3 separate regions of the Homo sapiens genome follow, and all the other regions are linked to region 1. Evidence: promoter capture Hi-C in 16 types of primary human blood cells and fetal thymus (Javierre and others, 2016). All regions are on one chromosome and are shown on one strand. The core of a region is centred on a gene start or on the middle of the fragment in contact, and the rest is flanking DNA. Distances in the headings are between cores, read along the strand shown.

The links. The method cuts DNA at HindIII sites, captures the fragments that hold promoters and counts their contacts. A CHiCAGO score of 5 or more calls a contact.
Region 2: a contact is called between a fragment that was not itself captured here and the fragment with the promoter of IGF1 in region 1, in 8 of 17 cell types (naive CD4 T cells, fetal thymus, total CD4 T cells and 5 more). The highest score is 14.4, in naive CD4 T cells.
Region 3: the fragment with the promoter of DRAM1 here is called in contact with the fragment with the promoter of IGF1 in region 1 in 2 of 17 cell types (naive CD8 T cells and total B cells); the score reaches 6.7 in naive CD8 T cells.

The regions. Positions count from the first base shown.
Region 1 is chr12:102,478,983-102,482,169 of GRCh38, reverse strand. It overlaps IGF1 (insulin like growth factor 1), which reads left to right and starts at 1,607. Exons shown (of 4, transcript NM_000618.5): 1 at 1,607-1,851. The coding sequence starts at 1,789. LINC02456 (long intergenic non-protein coding RNA 2456) reads right to left here. Exons shown (of 13, transcript XR_007063427.1): 11 at 1-3,187. RefSeq lists enhancers at 2,752-2,801, 2,892-3,151. The HindIII fragment of the contact is 6,669 bases long and covers 1-2,350 here.
Region 2 is chr12:101,955,235-101,958,430 of GRCh38, reverse strand. DRAM1-AS1 (DRAM1 antisense RNA 1) reads left to right here. Exons shown (of 3, transcript XR_001749284.2): 3 at 2,541-2,995. Among named protein-coding and RNA genes, the nearest start is that of DRAM1-AS1, 7.4 kb to the left of the region's middle. The HindIII fragment of the contact is 7,048 bases long and covers 1-3,196 here.
Region 3 is chr12:101,876,261-101,879,828 of GRCh38, reverse strand. It overlaps DRAM1 (DNA damage regulated autophagy modulator 1), which reads right to left and starts at 2,249. Exons shown (of 7, transcript NM_018370.3): 1 at 1,909-2,249. The coding sequence starts at 2,039. RefSeq lists enhancers at 1,363-1,412, 1,553-1,642, 1,281-2,062, 2,223-2,272, 2,063-2,845 and silencers at 1,863-2,202, 2,453-2,612. The HindIII fragment of the contact is 18,310 bases long and covers 1-3,568 here.

The DNA.
Region 1 (3,187 bases), core at 358-2,857:
CTTTGTCTCTGACATTCAGCTGAAAGCCCCTGAAGGGACTTGACCATATCTTATTCCTCTTTGTTTTCCTAGGGATGTTGTAGTTGGGCACATAGTAGAGCTCACAAAATGTTGCTGAACATAGTGCACCATTGACACAACATAATTCCAGATTTCTAACTTTGATTTCTGAAAGGTAAACATTGCTACAATGTATTAACCACACAGAAGACTCAAACAAACCCAACCCCCTTCCAAACAAAGCAGGTTTGTTTGTTTTTTGTTAGGGCACCCACTTCTACAAACAAATTTCTGGCCCCAGGATAACACAAAGAGCCAGAGTAGGATTTCAAGCAGAACTGTGTTTTCAGTTGATGTGTCAGTCCCCTGAGAGTCATGTGGAAAAAAAAAAAAAGAAAAAATTCAAGGTCCAGGTTATTTCCACCACTCCTGGGAAACCAGGCCTGGAGAGCTCTCTAGGGAAAGAGGTATGTCTGCTCTGGGCTTTTGCAACCTTATTTTATAATTCACTTTCTTATCTACTGCTTCACAAAACCAAAGGGAAATAGGTACAAACTGTATCGACAAAAGATCAGAACTGAATTCTCAATGGCAAAGGCAAGTGTACATTATAAATAGCAAAACAGCTGGCTTGGACCATGTTGCCGGCCAGTCACCCAGTTGAGGGATTTGAATGACATCATAACCCTCGAGAGGGTATTGCTAGCCAGCTGGTGTTATTTAGAATACACAAAAATCAGAGAAAGAAAACACACTCTGGCACACAGACTCCCTCTGTCATACACACACACACACACACACACACACACACACACACACACAGGTTTGAGTTATATGGAAAATTCAAACAACAGGAAAATTGTTTGCCCCCCAGGTACCCTTCTCCCAGAGTGGTGGGGTGGGGAGGGGACAGTGACAGGCAGCCTAGTAGAAGAATAAAGAAAAATGTTCTATTTCAGTTGGGTTTTACAGCTCGGCATAGTCTTTGCCTCATCGCAGGAGAAAAAGTATGAGACAGTGCCCTAAAGGGACCAATCCAATGCTGCCTGCCCCTCCATAGGTTCTAGGAAATGAGATCACACCTCTCACTTGGCAACTGGGACAAGGGGTCACCCGAGTGCTGTCTTCCAATCTACTTTACCCCAGTCACTTCAGGGTTAAAATTGTAGAGTTTGCTGGAGAGGGTCTTATCGTCCTTTCTTTCTTTTTTTGTTTTAAATAATGCATTTGCTCTAGAATCTAAAATTGCTCTCCCATCCCCCATATTCCTTTAATACTGGTAAGGTGTATTAGCAGACGTTTGTGTCTTCATGCCCAGCAGAAAGTTAATCAGAAAACAGATCCTTATTTTCTATGGCAGCATAAGTATTTTAATGTCTGCGAACCCTGTCACTAACACACATTCTTTTAAGGGAAAAAAATGCTTCTGTGCTCTAGTTTTAAAATGCAAAGGTATGATGTTATTTGTCACCATGCCCAAAAAAGTCCTTACTCAATAACTTTGCCAGAAGAGGGAGAGAGAGAGAAGGCAAATGTTCCCCCAGCTGTTTCCTGTCTACAGTGTCTGTGTTTTGTAGATAAATGTGAGGATTTTCTCTAAATCCCTCTTCTGTTTGCTAAATCTCACTGTCACTGCTAAATTCAGAGCAGATAGAGCCTGCGCAATGGAATAAAGTCCTCAAAATTGAAATGTGACATTGCTCTCAACATCTCCCATCTCTCTGGATTTCTTTTTGCTTCATTATTCCTGCTAACCAATTCATTTTCAGACTTTGTACTTCAGAAGCAATGGGAAAAATCAGCAGTCTTCCAACCCAATTATTTAAGTGCTGCTTTTGTGATTTCTTGAAGGTAAATATTTCTTACTCTTTGAAGTCATTGGGGAATTCTATTTAAATTGTGTACTGTTTGCTTCTGCCTAGAACTGTTCTTCACTTTAAAATTTTCATTGTTTCGGAACCGAGAGTTATTTATAAATTGCTGAATATGCAATTCTGTGGAATCTGAAAAATAGCTCGGGGAGATGGATGCATTTGCACAGATATCTGTATGAGTAGAAACTATTGCAAGGTACTTATGCTAAATCCTCCACTTCTGCAGGGCTTCCGTGGTGTCATTACAGAAGATTCCTTTAAATCCTCTCTATGGCTAAGGGCTATAGAGCATGGATATGAACTTGGGGATTTTTTTTTTCTTTTGCAGGTGCAGATGTTTTATTTTTAAGACCATGTTCTTTTGCATGTGTGTATGTGTCTCTGTGTGTATGTGTCTCTGTGTGTGTAACTCATCAGGACTTTATTTACAAGGCATGCTATATATGAAGGGTTGTATTTTAGATGATATTAAAGCTTTTAAATATGATCTTTGGAGCTAAGGTCCCGGAACTCTGCACTTATGCCCAGAGAGAGTGTTAAAGTTAGAGTAAAGTGTAATTTGTTCTTCCAAAAAAGAACTCCTTGACAACTCTTGCTGACCTTGCATATTTGTATAATTTAAACAAATACATACTGTATATGGAAAGCAGAAACTTTCTAAGAGCTGCTTGCCCAACTTTTCTGTTTAGAAGAGGACTTTCATGGGCAAAGTTTGGACTTGGGGTTCTGTGTTATAAAACTCTGATTTTATATTCAGTGTCGTGAAGTCCCTTTAGGTAAATCTGGCTGCTGCTGTCAGTGCACCGACTTCTCGTTTCCGATTGCTGGCCGTAGTTCTAGTTTCCATTCTCAGCAAAATTATATCCTTCAAGACTTGTGTTTTTTTTTCAATTTGCAAGCGCTTTTAAGCTGCTGTCACTGGCTCCACCGATTCAATTGCCTGAGGGCTCAATTCATAAGACGTCTCTGCCACTTAGTGCAGCATTCAGTTGCTGCTTTCAAACACTTCACCACTACGACTTTCCCTAGTCAAGTAAGTGGCTCCAGGAGTTAAAGATACACCCTTGTCAGGCACCTGATTCTGCTGTTCCTGAGATGCCAACACATGCAGGCCACCTTGCTTTCAAAGAAATGACGTCACTGTGCATACATACTATGTGATCTAGCAGCTGGAGTTTTTGTCTCCTTACTTAGGGGATCATAAAAGAGGCTGTGGAGCGTTATCTCTGCATTAATTACAAGTTAAGAAAATTGTTTCCAAATGCACTTTTCATGCTGTGTATGCTGAACACTTCAGAAGTGGAGCTCTTAAT
Region 2 (3,196 bases), core at 687-3,186, 520 kb after region 1:
AAGCTGACAAGAAAACCCAAACTAGGTCCCCCATACCAGGCCTCCGACATCCTGGCTGCAAGCTCACCAGAGATCTGTGTCCAACAATAAAATCCTCCTCAAATCTGGGAGCACTCAGCTTATTCCTGCCTTCTCAATCTTTTAAGTGCCTCCTTCCCATGCTCCTTTTTTTCCTTTCCCGTATCTTGCAAAATCTTGTTCCAAAATGTCAGTCAACCGTCAGCTAATGGGATCAGAAGTTGCCTCACAATCACAAAAACCTCCTGATCCCAGCCAAGGGCCCCCCATCACATCCAGTGTCCCAAGATGAACTCCCAGCCTCCATGACATAAGAAGACATTTCAGAGAAACTTTATAAATAGAGAAACTCATTCGTTATTTTTTCGAAAGACCAAGGAAAGAAAATGCAATGACCAAGGAAATTGTTGGTGGGTCATTGGCTGGGACACTGACATTCGAACATTGAACAATTAATTTGAGGATAATATAAACAGGTTTCATTACACCGATTTTAAGAATATGATATGAATAGTCTGTTGTTTTGAATTCTAGAATGTCCCTCCCCCTACCACACACCGTCTCCCTTCCTACTGGCCCCCTTACTATGAGCTGGCACTTCTCACTACTCTCTCTCCTGCTGGTTGTTTTCTTCATCCATGTCTGCTGTTAGAGTACAAATGAACTCAGTCTGCGACTGGCTTCCTGTGGTTGCCTTGCCTACATTTATTCTGGTTTTCTATTGTGTTCCTGACACATTTTTAAGAGTTCCATTATGTTGGAGCTTTTTTTTTCCTACTCTCTTCAGAAAAAACAAATGACTTTTCAAAAGGAACATCTTTTAAAAAATGTTTTTGTTTAAAGAAATAAGGTTCCCTTTAGTTCTTTGTGCTCTTTCACAATTACAGCCATGTAATCCATAAGGAATCCATTAATGTGTAAGAGGCTTTGAAGCTATCACGTGTGTGTGTGCGCGTGTGTGTATGTGTATGCATGCGCACGCGCTGTTTTTTCTTTTTCTCTTTCTTTCAGAATATTGCTGCTGCCAACCACTGATTTAGGAATGTTTAGAGGTATATGCCAACTCAATAATCAAAATCATTTTGGTACTGGGAACCCAACCACAGTCTCTGTAGACCAGTGGAATTTATTGCTTGCTCCAGTTTATTAAGTAAGAGTACCAACAGCATTTTGAATAAAAAAGAGTCTGATAAGATGTGATAGAATGTCAGGATAATTCATTTTCATCATAAAACAATGCTTGTTTTGAATCTGAAATGTTAAAAGCACAAACAGCCTGATGATCACGTTTTCCATCCCTTGACCTGGTATGGGAATATGATTCATAACTGTCTTCAGGAAAGAAGCTCAGTATAAACTGATGGTTTTCTGCTACACACACATCCCTGTTTTTATTCCACAAATACATATCTAATACCTATTGGGAACAAAGCACCGTACTCGGCATTGGGACCACAGTGGTGAAGAGAATAAACACAATTCCTGCCACATGGCACTCACAGAGGGAAGCTATCTTGGCCGCATCAATTACTTAAGACATTTGAGACGCACACAGAGTAATGCTGAGGCTTGTGGACTCTGGAGTCCAATGTAACTGTGTTCTGTTCCAGGCTAGACCACTCCAAGCTATTTTATTTTGAACAATTTTGCAGCCTTGCTCAGCTTCAGATTCCTAAATTGCGGTACTTACTTCATAAGGTTATTTCTAGGATTAAGTGGAAAAATGCTTGTACAGCTTTTAGCAAAGTGCCTCGTTAGCCAGTAATAGTAGTAGCACTAGTAATAGTAATAGTATGAGATGGGCCATATCTGGGGTCCCCAAGCCCCAGGTCACGGACCAGTACTGGTCCGTGGCCTGTTAGGAACTGTGCCACACAGCAGAAGGTGAGTGGCAGGTGAGTGACAGAGGCTTCATCTGTGTTTGTAGCCACTCTCCATCACTCACATTACCGCCTGAGCTCTGCCTCCTGTCAGACTAGCAGCAGCATTACATTCTCATAGGACCGCAAACCCTATTGCAAACTGTACGTGTGAGGGTTCTAGGTTGCGAACTCCTTATGAGAATCTAATGCTTGATGATCTGTCACTGTCTCCCATCAGCCCCAGAGGTGACCATCTAGTTGTAGGAAAACAAGCTCAGGGCTCCAACTGATTCTACATTATGGTAAGTTGTATAATTATTTCATTATATATTGCAATGTAATAATAATGGAAATAAAGTGCACAATAAATATAACGTGCTTGAATCATCCTGAAATCACCCCTCCCCCCACATTGGTCCATGGAAAAATTGTCTTCCATGAAACTGGGCCCTGGGCGCCAAAATGCTTGGGGACCACTGGGCCATATGAACCTTCAGTAGAACAGGCTCTTTCCTTATCCTTGGTATTTCAAGTTATTAGGTCCACCTGTTACCATGAGGTCACAGATCCATCCTACCCTGGGATTCTGTTCCATTTGAGGGAGAGATAAAAAAAGGCTTGCCCAATGCCCAGAAACACATTTTCTGCCTTCTCTTGCAGTGCCTCTTCTTGCCCATGGAAGGACATGCAGCTTCTTACTCCTCTGCTGCCCAACACAGTTTACTGGCTGGCCACTCCATGGCTAGGATCCTTCACACTACCTGAGACCTGATGTCTCTGGCTCCAAAGGACGCAGCTCTGCTCATCCCCCAGTGAGGCCTGTCATGAGTTGCTGTGGCTGTGGAAGCCTGCCATCCTGGGATGGAGACTTTTCCCACCACCCTGTCCCTTTAATTTCAGCAGGCACATCATCCCGCCTCATGTGGATCCCCAGAGCAGCAGATCTGGAATCTCCTGTGATGCTGAGGCCTTCAGGGACCACAGGAAACCCATCTTAATGATGAATCCTGGACTTTCTTTGCCCTTGGAACAGTCCTGGTTTCACACATTTACCTCCAAAAGAGCACTTAACAGCTGCCACGTGGCTGCCCTGAGGTTTGGGCTGAAACAACATGACCGTCATACCTTCCCAGAGTCCTCCCAAGAATGGTCTCTAGGTTCTCCTTCGCACAGTGGGGTACGATGGGCTACTCTGCCCAATCTGTGTACTCTCCTTGGGCTACTCTGCCCAAACTGTGATTTGGGGCATATAGCTATGCCTTCTCTGGTTCCTCTGTACCAAGGTCTCTCCAGTGGCTACCTCTTCTACTCAGCAG
Region 3 (3,568 bases), core at 1,000-3,499, 600 kb after region 1:
AGAGATGAGGTTTTACCATGTTGGCCAGGATGGTCTCGATCTCTTGACCTCATGATCCGCCAGCCTCGGCCTCCCAAAGTGCTGGGATTACAGGCGTGAGCCACTGTGCCCAGCTGAGCAGGTCTTTACTTTTACACAAGTCTAGAAGGATCTATCCTGCTTCAGAAGCAAGATGATGGCACTTGGGCCTGAGATGTGCCATGAGAAACCAAGCCTAGGTTTCTTCCAAGCATAATACCAGATGGGAGGGCCAGGCGTGGTGGCTCACGCCTGTAATCCCAACACTCTGGGAGGCCAAAGCAAGGGGAATGCTTGAGCCCAGGAGTTTAAGACCAGCCTGGGCAATATAGTGAGACTTTGTCTCTACTGAAAATAAAAAATAATAACAATAAATGGAAAAAACCGAAAGGCCAGATGAGAACATCTTGATATACATAACATCTCCTTTCATAGGCAAAAACCACCATCATTACTGCAAATTTGCACTATTCTACCTATTGCTGTATTCCCTGCATCTTGTAAATGCTGGTTCCCTGGGAACACTGGCTCACACCTGTAATCCTAGCATTTTGGGAGGCCAAGGCAAGAGGATCACTTGAGGTCAGGAATTTGAGACCAGCCTGACCAACATAGTGAAACCCTGTCTCTACTAAAAATACAAAAAAATTAAGCCAGGTGTGGTGGTGCACGCCTGTAATCTCAGCTACTTGGGAGGCTGAGGCAGGAGAATCGCTTGAACCCGGGAGGCAGAGGTTGCGGTGAGCCGAGATTGTGTCACTGCACTCCAGCCTGGGCGACAGAACAAGACTCTGTCTCAAAAAAATAAAAAAAATTTTAAAAAATGCTAGTCCCCTCTTGCTCGATCTTTGTTTCCCCTTTCTCCACACTCCTCACCCCCACCCCCAAAAAAAGGAAAAAAACAAACAAACAAACAAAAAAACACAGAACATTGCTCACCAGACAGAATGGCTGCAGGGAAGAAGACGCCCTACATTTTCTATCATAGCAGTAACAAACCTTGGGTGTCACCAACCTTATCATCCGTTCACCAACCAATGCCTGTCCAGAGGGGTCACACTACTTAGATAAGGATGGATGGTTCTAACGTTTAAAGAATCCTGCCACTATGAGAAAGGCACTGAGCTGGAACCCACATAGGAGGATCAGACCACTGTCCCTGGCACTGAAGTGCCCCTCAGGAAGGTAGAGGCCAAAGCACAGGAAAAGTGAATGGGTAAAATAACACAAAAGATGTCACAAGTTGTTGACAAGTTGAGGACTTTGGGGTCACAGTGCCCAGAGGTGTCTGGTGCAGCTCCAGAGAATTTAAGCCAGACTCCCAGAGACCTGGGGGCAGCACAGTGTTGCTTTCTGCATGGCCGGGTGTGAATTCTGCTCCTACCATTAACTAGTGTGACATCAGTGTCACGTTGATGATATTTCATCAACTTTACACCACCGCTCGCTTGCGGGAATAATAAGCCCAAACATCCACTTCAAGGGATGTTGGGATGCAGAAGTGAAAATAGTGGCTGTTTAGCATATACCTGGATCTACCTCTTGTATAATATATGTCATCTATCAGAACCCATCTTGTTTCAATATCGCCTAAGAACGTCCTGCTGAGATTCTGTCCCATACCCAGAATGAAAGCTCTACCATCTATCCTGAACCTCTCCTTGCTGCCACCCTGTTCCATGCTCCGGGTACAGGCAGAAGTGCTCAGCGCCGCACCCGCTGCCTCCCTAAACATCCCAGGCTATCGGGAGCACCTCTCCTCCTGCTCCCACCTCTGCCTGACCACACGACGCCCCAAGCTGGGTCCGGACGCCTTCCCTCCCCGTCGGCAGCGCTCCCTGTGGTCCCTGTGCCTGCTCCTGGGGCCCTGACGCCCACCCTGCCACTCACCTGATATACGGGAGGAAGGGGTTGACGTGCCCGGAGAGCACGGCGACCACGTAGGAGATAATGAAGGCGGCTGACGACCAGGTCACCAAGAGGAAGGGGACGAAAGCCATTCCCCTCAGGAAGCACAGCATCGCGCCGCCGCCGCCGCCGACGGAGTGCTGCGCCCAGCGGGGCCGGGCGCCGGGTTGCTCCGGGCTGCCTGGAGGCGGCGGCCGGGCGCGTACACTCACGGACGGTGGGAGGGGAGGCTCCGCGACGGCCGGGGCAGGCCCAGCCCCGGAGGGAGGGGAAGCGCGAGGAGCGGAGCGAGGCTGCGGGCGGCGAGGCTGCCGGGCCAGAGTGGGTGGGGCGCGGGCTGCCCGGGCTTGTTGCGAAACGAGTGAAGTCACAAAGCGGCCCGGCAGGGTCGGAGGCGCCCGGCGAGCTCCAAGCGGACGCGACTACGGAGCCGCCGGAGGGGACGCGGGGTCGGGTTCCTTTCGCTTTTGGTTTGGACACTCGGCGGAGGCCGGGTTGGGCGCGGACGGGCGGCGTGGGGTCACTGGCGGGGACGCCCGCTCTGGCCTTCCCACTCTGGCCCTACCGCGCTGGCTCTTGCGCAACTCTGGAGAAAAGGATTTATTTCTCCCAACCCCTCCCTCCCGGGGGATTTCCGGAGTGCCGGGCCTCGCACCCCGAGGGCGCCCCCTCCGAGGTCCCGCCGCCGGCGCTTCGCAGCAGTGAGAGTGGCCACCGCGTGGTGACACCCATGCCATCCGGTCGCGCTGCTGCTGCGGGGGTCGGGCAGAAGTGTTCAATGAGGTTCGCCAGGTCACGGGGCGCAGATGTGGCTCCCACCTCAATGGTGAACACCCGAAAACCCAGACAGGGTGGGAACGGGTGGGGTGGAGAGTACGCGGGTGGGGTGCGGGGCAGGCGGGTGGGACTGCGCGCCCACGGAGCCGGGAGGCCCATTGTGCTGCTTTCCAGGAGAGCGCAACTGGAGAATATTTCCTGGAAATAAGATTTCCCAGGCCGGGCGCCGTGAATAGCCATCACTTTGGGAGGCATCCAAAAGCCATCACCCCTGGAATGCCACCACTTTGGGAGGCCGAGTTGGGAGGATCGCTTGAACCCAAGAACTAGAGATCAGCCTGGGTAACATAGCGAAACCCCTCTTCTACAAAAAAAAAAAAAAAAAATGAAAAAGAAAAAAAGCCGGTTCCAGTTACTCGGGAGACTGAGTTGGGATGATCACTTGAGCCTTGGGGGTCGAGGCTGCAGTGAGCCTTTATCACACCACTTCACTCGGCCTGGGTGACAGAGCAAGACCTTGTCTCAAAAAACAAACAAACAAAAAAAAAACAAAAAAAACTCCCCTCCAGGTTCTGGAGTAGCCCAGACTCGGAGCCTTGGCCTAAGATGATTAATAGTGACTTGATACATTTCAAGCCCTGTGAAAGGGATTTGTGTTCTGGAGGCACTTATAATATAAGCACATGATTTTGATAGTTTAGGGAGTCTGAGCCCAACATATGTGGCCAAAATTGTTGGGTCATTGGTGACCAAAGATAGGTTCCTTTCAGCCACAAACACATTTCATGGGCGCCATGCTAGGCTACAAAGATGAAATAGTAATAGTACCCTCAGGACGAGGACACTCATAGATCAAAATAACAAA